Regions from separate parts of the Homo sapiens genome. Here regions 1 and 3 are each linked to region 2. Evidence: promoter capture Hi-C in 16 types of primary human blood cells and fetal thymus (Javierre and others, 2016). All regions are on one chromosome and are shown on one strand. Each heading gives the region's core, a stretch centred on a gene start or on the middle of the fragment in contact. The rest is flanking DNA. Distances are from core to core; before and after follow the strand shown. Region 1 overlaps LOC105378258 (a long non-coding RNA gene). Region 2 holds the start of COX6A1 (cytochrome c oxidase subunit 6A1). Region 3 overlaps RNF34 (ring finger protein 34).

Region 1 (3,952 bases), core at 1,039-3,538, 620 kb before region 2:
CAAGCACCTCCAGGAAGGAGGTCCCGCACCACCATGCACAGAGTGTCTGCAATGCAGAACCAGAGAGGACCTTTGGGATGGTCCACTGTGGTTGAGCCACCATACTCAAAGATGGGGACCCTTGATAGATGCCTTGACGAAGCAAGCAGAAGGTCACCAGGAAGTTCTCTGTCCTCCACCATCTATCCGTTTTATGGACTAAAAAATAGTCACAAGATTGAAGTGCTTTTGCTTCCTAGGAAACATGGTGTCATTCATTCATTTATTCAGCCAACATTAACTGAGGCCCCATTGTGTGCCAAGAAATGTGCTAGACCCTGGGACCACGTGCTTCTCACGCTGAAGATTCCCAGTAGAGAAGACACATAACAAACTGCCCGTAGAATGGGGCTGCCTTATTCATTTATGTATTCTCCAAGCCTCGCCCAGTGCCCAGCACGTAGTAGGAGCTCAATAAATAATAAGTGCCTTGGGCAGTAAGATAATGTCGTGGGTAAACCTCTGGCATTTAGAATCAGAGAACCTGGGTTTGAATCACAGCTTGTCCACTTCTTTGGTGTGTGACTCTGGGCAGGCCACATCATCTTGCTGAGACTCGATTTCTTCATAATGTAACATGGTGTGAACCTGCATCACAGAGTCTTGTGGGGATTATGGGAACTAAACTGTGAAAAGAGGCTGGGTGTGGAGGCTCGCGACTCTAATCCCAGCACTTTGGGAGGTCAAGGCAGGCGGATCACTGGAGCCCAGGAGTTTGAGACCAGCCTGGGCAGCATAGCAAAACCCCATCTCTACAAAAAAAAAAAGTACAAAAATTAGCCAGGCTCAGTGATGCATACTTGTAGTCTCAGCTACTCAGGAGGCTGAGGTGGGAGAATCACTTGAGCCTGGGAGGTGAGGTTGCAGTGAGCCCAGATCATGCCACGCACTCCAGCCTGGGTGACAGAGCCAGATCCCATCTCAAAAAAAATAAAGAATAAAATAAACTGTGTAGAGAGCCTGGTATACACGAAGTGCTTGATAAGTATAGCTATTGGAGTTAATATCAATACCATAATGTCAAAGAGCCCTGGTAAACACTCTGGGCTCCTGTCTGCCTTCTGAAAAACAAGGATTAAGCAGATCCCCTCTGTCTCTTCTGTACTAGGATCCTAGGAACTACAAATGGTGATTGTTTTAGGTGGGTGTGGAGCATCATCTTGTGGAAGAGAGGAAAATTGACAAAAATGTCGCAGTTTCCTATTAAGAATATATATTGGAATTCACAGTTTTTAAAATATGAGTACATATACCAAAAATGCCCTAATGCAAGGTGATCCCCAAATCCAATCAATTTTTCCAATGGACTAATAACAAATATTTGCCAGGGAGAAAATAAAAATGTGTTTGAGAATCACATGGATCAATGGGGAAAAACATAAAAATAAATGAAAAATAAAAATATGTTGGCATAGCCCTAATTACATAAGCTTAAGGGAAATCAAATATGCACTTCCAATATTTCGTTAATTTATTTAGATACAGCTATACATTTGTATATGTTATGGGGTAATATACAAATATTACTCTTTTCCACTTTCAGTTTTCAAAAAGATTTTGTAACTCAAGCTCTTCACAGGCATCTCCCACTTAGTGGTTTTCCCTCTCCAAGGCAATTTTTGAATCTTCTAAGCCTGTGTTTCAGGGCTCAGTATTTTTTACTCTGTTAAGCAGAGTGAGAGACAGGCTGTCATGAATCTGGACATTTTTATTTTTAATTTTTTTTAGACAGGGTCTCATTCTGTTGCCCAGGCTGGAGTGCAGTGGTTTGATCACAGCTCACTGCAGCCTCGACTTCCCAGGCTCAGGTGATCCTCCCACTTCAGCCTCCCTAGTAGCTACGGGCACATGCCACATGCCCGGCTAATTTTTTTGTATATTTTGTAGAGATGGAGTTTTACTATGCTGCCCAGGCTGGAAATCTGGACATTCTTAACAAACCTCAGTGACATATTTATGCGTTGTTAGGGCATTTTTAAAATGCATCCTATAGGTGCATACTTATGGCCTCCACAGTATCAATGTGGGATTTACTTTCTTTCCTTTTTTTTTTTTTTTTTTTTTTTTTTTTTTTTTTTTGAGACAGTCTGGCTGGAGTGCAGTGATGCCATCTCGGCTCACTGCAACCTCCGCCTCTGGGGTCAAGTGATTTTCCTGCCTCAGCCTCCCAAGTAGCTGGGATTACAGGCGCCTGCCACCACGCCTGGCTAATTTTTTTGTATTTTTAGTAGAGACGAGGTTTCATCATGTTAGCCAGGCTGGTCTCAAACTCCTGGCCTCAAGCGATCCTCCCGCCTCGGCCTCCCAAAGTGCTGGATTACAGGCGAGAGCCACCGCGCCTGGTCGCTAGTTGAGATCTTTAAAAGCCAATGTGTCTACCACAAACTGTCAGTTTGCTCTTCAAAATGAAGTTCTTGAGAGAACAGCGCCCCCTAAAGACAATTTTTTAAAAGATTACCTCCTTCCTGTGGATTATTGGTGAGGGGATAGGGGAGACCTAAATATACGCAACAAAACAAGTAGTAAAGGGGTGAGTATGTCTTTGCTTTTAGAAAATAAAGAGTCAATCCCAGGCCCCAGGACTCCCGGGGCTCAGCCCAAGCCCCCATCCCCTCACCCCAAGGAGCCAGCACCTTCTGATTCCGGGGCAGACACTACTGAGTTCCCGTAGGGAGACAAGGTCTGCTCCTGCAGCAGGAAATAGGGGATGGAGAGGTGGGGGCAGCCCAGCTCCAGGACACCCTGGGAAACTCCCAGCCTGAGAACCTTCCTCTCAAGGAAGCCCAAGGGGCACTTGGCTCCATCTCCAGCCTTTTTTCCTGGCAACCTCAAATGGAAAGAGAAAATTCCTCTTTCAAAGCTCAGCAAATTTTCTGTTTCCAATTAAAACAAAACAAAACAAAACAAAAAAACCCAAACAAACAAAACAAAGTTCAGTTTCAGTTTCCATTCTCAGCCGGCAGGAGAGATGGCTGCTGAACTAAGGCAGCCCAGCAGAGGGAGGCTCAGCTGATGCCTGGAGGGCCCCCTAGCCCTCTCTGCACCCTAAAAAGAGGAAAGTAAGCTTAGTGATTCTTCCGTCGGTGGCTCACGCCTGTAATCCCAGCACTTTGGGAGCCCAAGGCGGGCAGATCACCTGAGGTCAGGAGTTTGAGACCAGCCTGGCCAACATGGTGAAACCCCGTTTCTACTAAAAATACCAAAAATACCAAAAATTAGCCGGGCGTGGTGTCAGGTGCCTGTAATCCCAGCTACACAGGAGGCTGAGGTGGGAGAATCCCTTGAACCCGGGAGGCAGAGGTTGCGGTGAGCTGAGATCACGCCATGGGTGACAGAGCAAGACTCTGTATCAAAAAAAAAAAAAAAAAGAAAGAAAAAGGGCAGCTAACTCTCTCTCTAACCCACACCATCTCCCTGCCCTTCTGCAGTTCTGTGGCCTACTGGACAAAGGCTGGGAGTTGCCCCTTACAGGGCTGGGCAGAAGCAGAGACGATTCATTCCTGGTCCCACAGAGATGGCAGGCTTCCAGGACCTGTATGACACCCCTGGGGACAGGCTGGATGTCTTCATAAAACATCCTTCCAGTCTGCCTTCGTAAAACAGCCTCCAGCCCCAGGGAGACTGGAAGGATGAAGTGAAGGATGCCGGGCATTGAACTGAGCAGTTCTTGAGGGATCAGTTCTTCTATAATGAGCTGATTCTGGACCAGGAAGTCAGGGTGCTGAAGATGGCAAAGGTGAGCACTCAGGAACCCCCGGGGTTCAAATCCCAGCTCTGCCCTGTGGGACTGTGGGGCTGTGGGATAGGTAAGGGATGAGTTATTTTGTCTCTCTGAGCATCGGTCTCTTCCTCTCTAAAACCGGTTTCTAATGAACAATAAATGGGATAAAGCATAGAAAAGTGCTCTTAAGCA
Region 2 (3,778 bases), core at 1,279-3,778:
AGGTGAGCTTAAGGTCCCATATACTTTTTCTGGTCCATGTGCAGAGTAACGGTCCAAACCAGTGCTGTGGTCCCTGGTGCCCGGGTAGTGGTCCAGATTCTCTTTATTCATCTTCGTAGCCAGTTGGAAGTGGATTCACATGAGGGTTATGGAATAGAGTATGGTTACCATCTCCCCAGGGAAACGGCTGTGGAGTGAAGATGTCAGTTAGATAATTCCAGAAAATAATTTAGAAAGAACACCGTCATGAACTGCTTATAACGGGGTGACAGATCATATATAAAAACAAAATGGAAATTAGTCCTTTATCTACTGGTGTAGTTCAACCTTCCCATTATTTAAGGAGCTCTTATAACTACCAGGGGAGCCCTTAAAGTTATCCTGGCTACAGGACAGTTTTAATTCCAGAAACAAATATGGATGGCAGAAAATGCAAGCTCAAGTTAGTTACTCATCATCCTCTCCCTAGTAACTAGTATATCCAGTGCTGTGTTTATGAAAGTGTAATCCTCAAATCACCTATATCAAAATGGTGGCAGTATTAGGGGAGGGAGATGCTTAATTAAATGCAGATTTCTGGCACCATCCCAGACTTCAAACAATATCTGGGCTGGGAAACTGCAGCCCACCCTGAATTATCTTGCCTATTACCTTTGAAAAGCATTACTTTAGGGCAACGGTCTCCAACCCAGGGTGATTTTGCCCCTTCAGGGCACACTGGGTAGTATCGGGAGACACTGTGATGGGGGCGGGGGAGGGGGAAGCGGGAGTGGGGTTGCGCAGGTACTACTGCCACCTAGTGGGTACAGGCCAAGGATATGGCTAAACATTTCACAATGCACAAGATAGCCCCCCAACAAGAATTACCCAGCCCCAAATGTCAACAGTGCTGAGGCTGAGAAACCTTTACTGTTTGGCTTCTAATTGCATTGTACAAGGATGGGAGTGCCGCTCAAAGACTCAACAAATTCAAGAGTCTAGGTTAAGTTTCTACAAGGCCAGTCCTATATGGGCTAGGTGATGTAATAATAATAATAATAATAATAACTTTTTTCATCACTTCTCGGCCTTTTGGCTAAGATCAAGTATATTATTACTATTTTTTTTTGAGACGGAGTTTCACTCCTGTTGCCCAGGCTGCAGTGCAATGGCTGGATCTTGGCTCACTGCAACCTCCTCCTCCTGGGTTCAACCTCCTAGATTCTCCCACCGCAGCCTCCCGAGTAGCTGGGATTACAGGCGCCCGCCACCACGCCCGGCTACTTTTTGTACTTTTAGTAGAGATAGTGTTTCGCCATGTTGACGAGGCTGGTCTTGAACTCCTGACCTCCGGCGATCCACCCACCTTGGCCTCCCAAAGTGCTGGGATTACAGGCGTGAGCCACCGCGCATGGCCAGTATTGAAGAATCAGAATAAGCCCTTGTTAAAGATACAGCAAACAACAGAGGACACAACATTGTAATATATCTACATCAACAACCAATGATAAAACAGTCGAGAAAAGGTATTGGTGGGGAATAGAGAAAGCTGTCAGTCTCTTCATTATGCAACTAGTAGCTGCCAGATGCCCATGTTTTGTTGTTGCTGTTTTGTTTTGTTTTGAGACCAGAGTCTCGCTCTGTTGCCCAGGCCGGAGTGCAGTGGCACGATCTCAGCTCCCTGCAAACTCCGCCTCCTAGGTTCAAGGGATTCTCCTGCTTCAGCCTCCCATGTAGCTGCTGGGTTCGCTTACGCGAACCACCTTCAGACTTTGCCACTCTAATTGGATTTCCCAAACCTCCAGGCTTTACACAACGGACACCTGTTTCAGAACTGTCTCAGAAGTAAAAAAAAAAAAAAAAAAAAAAAAAAGAACTGTCTCAGAAGGCAGGAGGTAGGATGAATCGGAGAAAAGGGAAACTGAAGAGCACTTATTGTATGACCTTGAAGAAGAGAATTGAGACGTAATCCCAAGTGTCAGCTGTCCATCCACAAAATGGAAGAAAATACATTTTCTGTTTGTGAGGATAAACAAGCTGTACACGCCTGGCACCCATGCCTTCAGAGAATGAAGAACTTGCACTAAGGCACACATAACGAAAAGAGAACGGACGCTTGAAGAGATGTACAAGGGCGTACCTTGGTCCTGATGCGGAGATGGGGGTAGGCGATGAACTCGGGTCTCTCGTGCTCTCCGTGGTGCGACTTCAGGTACACATTCAGCATGCTGACTGCCACCCCGGGGAGCGCGACGAAGAAGGTGAGAGTCTTCCACATGCGAGCTGCGGAGAAGCCACAAACGTTCAGCGCCGGTATGGGGCGGGCCCGGGTCTCACTTTCCCTCCCGCAAGGCCTCGGGCCAAGGTCACAGTCCCTCCCTGTCTCGCCCGAGTGGGGCTGAGGCTCGACCCGTCGACCCCGGCCCCAGTACCTGAGCCCTCTTCGCCATGGGCGCCACTCGACATAGGCCGCCCCAGCTGTGGGCGGGACCGACCCAGCAGCCGAGAAACCGAGGACACACCAACTACCGCCATTTTTGATCTGGACTGCCGCAGCGCCGGAAGCGGAAGTGGAAAATTGGCTCTGGGGGCGGTACTACAACCTCCAAAGGAAGTTACTATTGGGCGCCGCCCTCCCACTGGCATTAACCTGAGCACTATCATCCGGGACGACGGAGTCCTTGTCAAAATCCTCGGCATCTCGGGCAAGAGAGAGCATGCGCTCTGCACCTCCCTTCAGGCTTTACCGTTTCCTTCGTGCGCATGCGTGTGCCCTCCGGTCTCCCTACCGTCCCCACCTGGGCGAGGCGGAAGCTCAAGAGAGGTTTGTGCAGGGTGCCCTGGTACCTGGAATCGCTCCCTTCGTTGGAGTCCATGGACGGGCATCTGGAGGTTCTGATCCCAGACCGCCCTATCTAAAATTCCGTTCCCCTTCCTCGCCATCCTCCGACTGCGTTTTCTCATAGCACATAACATTGCACCTTCGTCGTTATATTATTATTTTGTCTGTCTCCCCCACTAGAATATAAAGTCTGTGATACCAAGAGTTTGGCACTGCAGCATTCTCAGAATAATCTGGGAATGGTGTAATTTGGAATCATACCTGGCACATACCAGATACTTGATATAAATTTGCTGAATGAATGGATGAATGAATGAATAGCAACAGAAAGTATAAAGAGCACTGAAATTGGTGCCAGCAGACCTGGATCCTAATCCTGACTCAACAGTCTCATCTTTTTTTTTTTTTTTTTTTTTTTTTTTTTTGAGACGGAGTTTGACTCTTGTTGCTTAGGCTGGAGTGCAGCGGTGCAATCTTGGCTCACTGCAACCTCTGCATCCCAGGTTCAAGCAGTTCTACTGCCTCAGCCTCCTGAATAGCTGGGATTACAGGCACGCACCACCATGCCTGGCTAATTTTTTTTTTTGTACTTTGGTAGAGACAGGGTTTCACCATATTGGCCAGGATGGTCTCCATCTCCTGACCTTGTGATCCGCCTTCCTCGGCCTCCCAAAGTGCTGGGATTACAGGCGTGAGCCACTGTGCCCGGCCTTTTTTTTTTTTTTTTTTTTTTTTTTCAATAGGCCCCTTTGAGAATGTAATGAGGACCAGCGTGGTGGCTCATGGCTGTAATCCCAACACTTTGAGAGGCCGAGGCGGACAGATTGCTTGAGCTTGAGAGTTTGAGACCAGCCTGGGCAACAAAGCTTTTTTCTTTATTAGAAAAAAAAAGAATCTAATGAAAGCTTTGAACCCTTTCCTCTAAAGACACACCTATGTGTAAACACACAGTATAGC
Region 3 (4,019 bases), core at 1,241-3,740, 960 kb before region 2:
ATAAGGACTCTCTCAGGTTCCTCAGTCAGAGTCAAACAATATAAGCCCATGAAACATCATTACAGTCAACAAAAGCAAGAGGAAAGGTGTTCTGTTTCTTTGCAAGAGCAGCAGCCCAGCTCTCTTTCTGGCACAGTGCCAGGATTTTCAAATGGCCTCAAGGTTCAGCTGTCTTTGCTTCTGTGTGTGTATAATCTAATATGTTTTCAGAATCCCTGTGGGGAGAAAATACTTCAAAATGCTCAATTTAAAGAATTCACAAATTTACCACAAATTTTCAACCCTAAACTTTTAATGATTCCATTAAATATATTATCAACCAGCCAGACTAGAACGAAGAATCAGAAAAGCTATGGTAGTTTCCATGAAGATTAAATGACAGGCTGGGCGCAGTAGCTCACACCTCTAATCCCAGCACTTTAGGAGGCCAGAATCACTTGAGGTCAGGAGTTCAAGACCAGCCTAGCCAAGATGGTGAAACCCGGTCTCTACTAAAAATACCAAAAAAAATTAGCTGGGTGTGGTGGTGCACAACTGTAGTCCCAGCTACACAGGAGGCTGAGGCAGGAGAATCACTTGAGGCGGAGACTGCAGTAAGCTGAGATGGTGCCACCGCACTCCAGCCTGGGCAACAAAGAGAGACTCCATCTCAAAAAAAAAAAAAAAAAAAAAAAAAGATTAAATGACAGCCAGACACAAGAGAAGTATAGGGGGAGAGTGGGAAAAGAAAGTTTATGAGTATGAAAACAGACAACTAGGCCAGGTGCCATGGCTCAAGCCTGTAATCCTAGCAGTTTGGGAGGCCAAGGCAAGTGGACTGCCTGAGCTCAGGAGTTTGGGACCAGCCTGGGCAACATTGTGAAACTCCGTCTCTACTAAATACGAAGAAAAAAAAAAAAAATTAGCCGGGCATGGCAGCTACTTGGGAAGCTGAGGCAGGAGAACTGTTTGAACCCGAGAGGCAGAGGTTGCAGTGAGCTGAGATCGTGCCACTGCACTCCAGCCTGGCGACAGAGTGAGATTCCATCTCAAAAAAAAAAAAAAGAAACAGAAAACTAAATGATCTAAGTCATTCACTTTTTATTAAACTAGGTAAATAGCAAGGTAATAATAATGCCATAGACTCTTCTCGTAAGAGTCTATCTTGCTTGCCAAAACTCTAATATGTTACTACACAGTCATTCACTTTTTATTAAACTAGGTAAATAGCAATGTAATAATAAACCCATAGACTCTTCTCATAAGCGTCTACCTTGCTTGCCATAACTCTAAGTTAAATATATTATTTACACAGTTATTTTAAGGATGAACCTAGAAGTTTTAAATTCAAAAATAATTGTCTCAGATGCTACATGAATCTACAAGGACCAAGGAGCGATACTGTTCTTCCATCAATGAAAGCTTCCTCAGAGAACTCACCCACTATATGTCCAGGGTTTGTTTCAAACTCTGGACAACCTTCAGTTTGCTAAAACTCAATGTCCTGTGTTAAACGACAGGAAAAAGATGTATTAAATCTTAGCAACGGTGATATAAAATAATCGGTTTTACAGTTTAATCTTGGTTAGGTTAAACTTTCCTACATAACTAAAAGCAAAGCAGAAAAAACAGTTGATAAAAAAGCAAAATCTTTATCCTTTTTTTTTTTTGTTTTGGTTTTTTTTTTTGGAGACAGAGTCTTGCTCTGTTGCCCAGGCTGGAGTGCAGTGGCGCAATCTTGGCTCACTGCAAACTCTGCCTCCCGGGTTCACGCCATTCTCCTGCCTCAGCCTCCAGAGTAGCTGGGACTACAGGCGCCCGCCACCACATCCAGCTAATTTTTTGTATTTTTAGTAGAGACAGGGTTTCACTGTGTTAGCCAGGATGGTCTCAACCTCCTGACCTTGTGATCTGCCTGCCTCGGCCTCCCAAAGTGCTGGGACTACAGGCGTGAGCCACCGCGCCCGGCCTCTTTATCCTATTTAGAGCCATTTGAGAAACATATGCTCCTTAGAATGTGAAAGGATTTCTTATCAAAACTGCTGCTTCAACTGAAATACAATATGCAGGGACCTAACTCTTTCTTAGTGACCAAATATCCGACCATATACCACAAAGGAAGGAATTCTACATCCTAAATTATTTCTCTCATACCATTTGGACATTAAGCAGGTTGCAAAAACAGATGATGAACTCTAAAATGTAATACTTTTAGACAAGACATTGGCCAAACTGATCGATTATTACAATAACATGTGCTATAGATACAAATGTTACCTTCCTCATGCTTGGGTTTTTGTTTTCTTTTAACAGTATACTTGATCCTTAGTACCACTCCCCCACCTTTCAGAGAAAAAAAAAGGAAAAGGAATTACATTCAGTAGATTACTTTCTCCTTGATATCTCATTTTGAGCTTGGAAGAACCCAGATTAGCACAATTAATGGTGAGATCAATATAAATAAGGAAAAATGGGAAAGAGGATTAAATCAAATTAACACAGGGCACCAATTTGGATTTTTTTTTTTAATCCCTTATAGGAAGTTGATTGGATGTTACTGCAAGGTTAAAAAGTTACTTGAGTCTGAGAGGTAAGACCTATTTCAAAACATCAGTTTCTAAACCAAACCAAACCAAACCAAACCAAAACGCCAAAGGGAGAAAGTAAATACCCATTCCGTACATATACTAAAACCAGCTGCTCCAGGTTTGAGTGAACATGTACTTATCCATATAATTGCTTAGCTTTTCTTGTTTATTTTTAACTGCTTAACTTTTTTTTTCCTTTTTTTCTTTTTAAAATAATTTTTAATCGAGACAGGGTTTTGCTATGTTGGCCAAGCTGTTCTCGAACTCCTGACCTCAAGTGATCCATCTGCCTTGGCCTCCCAAAGTGCTGGGATTATAGGCGTGAGCTATTGCACCCGGCCAGGTATACTTGCTTAGCTTTTAATGTAATTTTAATTCCACAGAAAGAAGTATTTCCTTACATGAACATTCACATGTTAGCATTCCATGACATCAGGAATCAGTCTCTGCCCAGAAATCTACAGATGAGCATACCCACAATTAAACAATTTCAATATAAATCAACATTAAGTTAAATAATAAACATTTAACAGCCCAAATCCTCAATGGTGTAAATCCAGTTTCACAAAAACAAAAGCATCATTTATAACTGTCATCTGGCACAGGCTGATGTCTATTCAGGTCCATATTTTGCTTCTGAAAATACGTATCTTTTCTATAATTTCAATTGCCACCAAACTTTGTTTCTAAAATTTCATCTTAGAAAGTAGTACCTTCCACTTCAATTCAAAACACACGTCTGTTTTCAAAGAACTTGTTTAAAAATTTCAACACTGGACCTGTCTCTAATTCTTTCCTTCGATAGCTAGTTCCTTAATGGGCCACAAATTTAATATTAATAAAGATACTGATTCTTCGAGGCATTATATATAAAGATCCCTGCTTTGTTTTTGGATCTTAACACAGCAGAGGGTGGTTTTCAGGAAATAAAGCTACTTCTAGATACTTTAATAGATATTTCAAGCTGTAATAATATTTTATAACTAAACTGGAAAGTTAAAAATAAGCTTTTACAATATCCTCATACTTCAAGGCACAGTTCCAAAGTTACCTATTCCAAAAATATTCCTTGCTTTCTGTAGCCAGAAGTATCCTTTCTGGCTCCTGTGTTTTGTCCCTGCCTTTTTTTTTTTTTTTTTTTTGATACCTATAGCCTTCTGCCTTGTAATATGGTTACTTACAAATAACTCTTCTTTTGAATGGTAAACTGCCTTCCTAAGGGATGAGACTGTATTTTGAATTACTTCTCTTCACCATGTCTCCCTCTTGGCTAACGCACAGAAAACGTTCAACAAAACATGTGCTGAATTTCTGTGACCAGCTGACACTCTTTTTCAATCTTCTATAGTAAATCTTTGACGCTTTATGGAGACAGCGTTAATCTAGCAGCTCACCTGCTAGATTACCCACCCCCAGCACACCTCTGCACTGAGATTAACGAAACCATCTAGG

Evidence for each region. Contacts are between HindIII fragments. The CHiCAGO score rates a contact against its expected background, and 5 or more counts as called.
Region 1: a contact is called between a fragment that was not itself captured here and the fragment with the promoter of COX6A1 in region 2, in 3 of 17 cell types (total B cells, naive B cells and total CD8 T cells). The highest score is 7.8, in total B cells.
Region 3: a contact is called between a fragment that was not itself captured here and the fragment with the promoter of COX6A1 in region 2, in 1 of 17 cell types (fetal thymus). The highest score is 5.7, in fetal thymus.

Annotation. Positions count from the first base shown.
Region 1 is chr12:121,059,272-121,063,223 of GRCh38, reverse strand. It overlaps LOC105378258 (a long non-coding RNA gene), which reads left to right. Exons shown (of 4, transcript XR_007063492.1): 4 at 3,468-3,934. It also overlaps the pseudogene OASL2P. Among named protein-coding and RNA genes, the nearest start is that of OASL, 22 kb to the right of the region's middle. RefSeq lists enhancers at 2,643-2,822, 2,843-3,012, 3,133-3,222. The HindIII fragment of the contact is 1,634 bases long and covers 1,472-3,105 here.
Region 2 is chr12:120,436,863-120,440,640 of GRCh38, reverse strand. COX6A1 (cytochrome c oxidase subunit 6A1) reads right to left here and starts at 2,528. Exons shown (of 3, transcript NM_004373.4): 1 at 2,412-2,528; 2 at 2,120-2,262; 3 at 1-187. The coding sequence starts at 2,514. The coding sequence ends at 104. It also overlaps the pseudogene LOC124903126. RefSeq lists enhancers at 1,834-2,355, 2,282-2,491. The HindIII fragment of the contact is 8,043 bases long and covers 1-3,689 here.
Region 3 is chr12:121,401,045-121,405,063 of GRCh38, reverse strand. The region is part of intron 1 of RNF34 (ring finger protein 34); the gene reads right to left. Among named protein-coding and RNA genes, the nearest start is that of RNF34, 2.9 kb to the right of the region's middle. RefSeq lists an enhancer at 3,775-4,019. The HindIII fragment of the contact is 2,173 bases long and covers 1,404-3,576 here.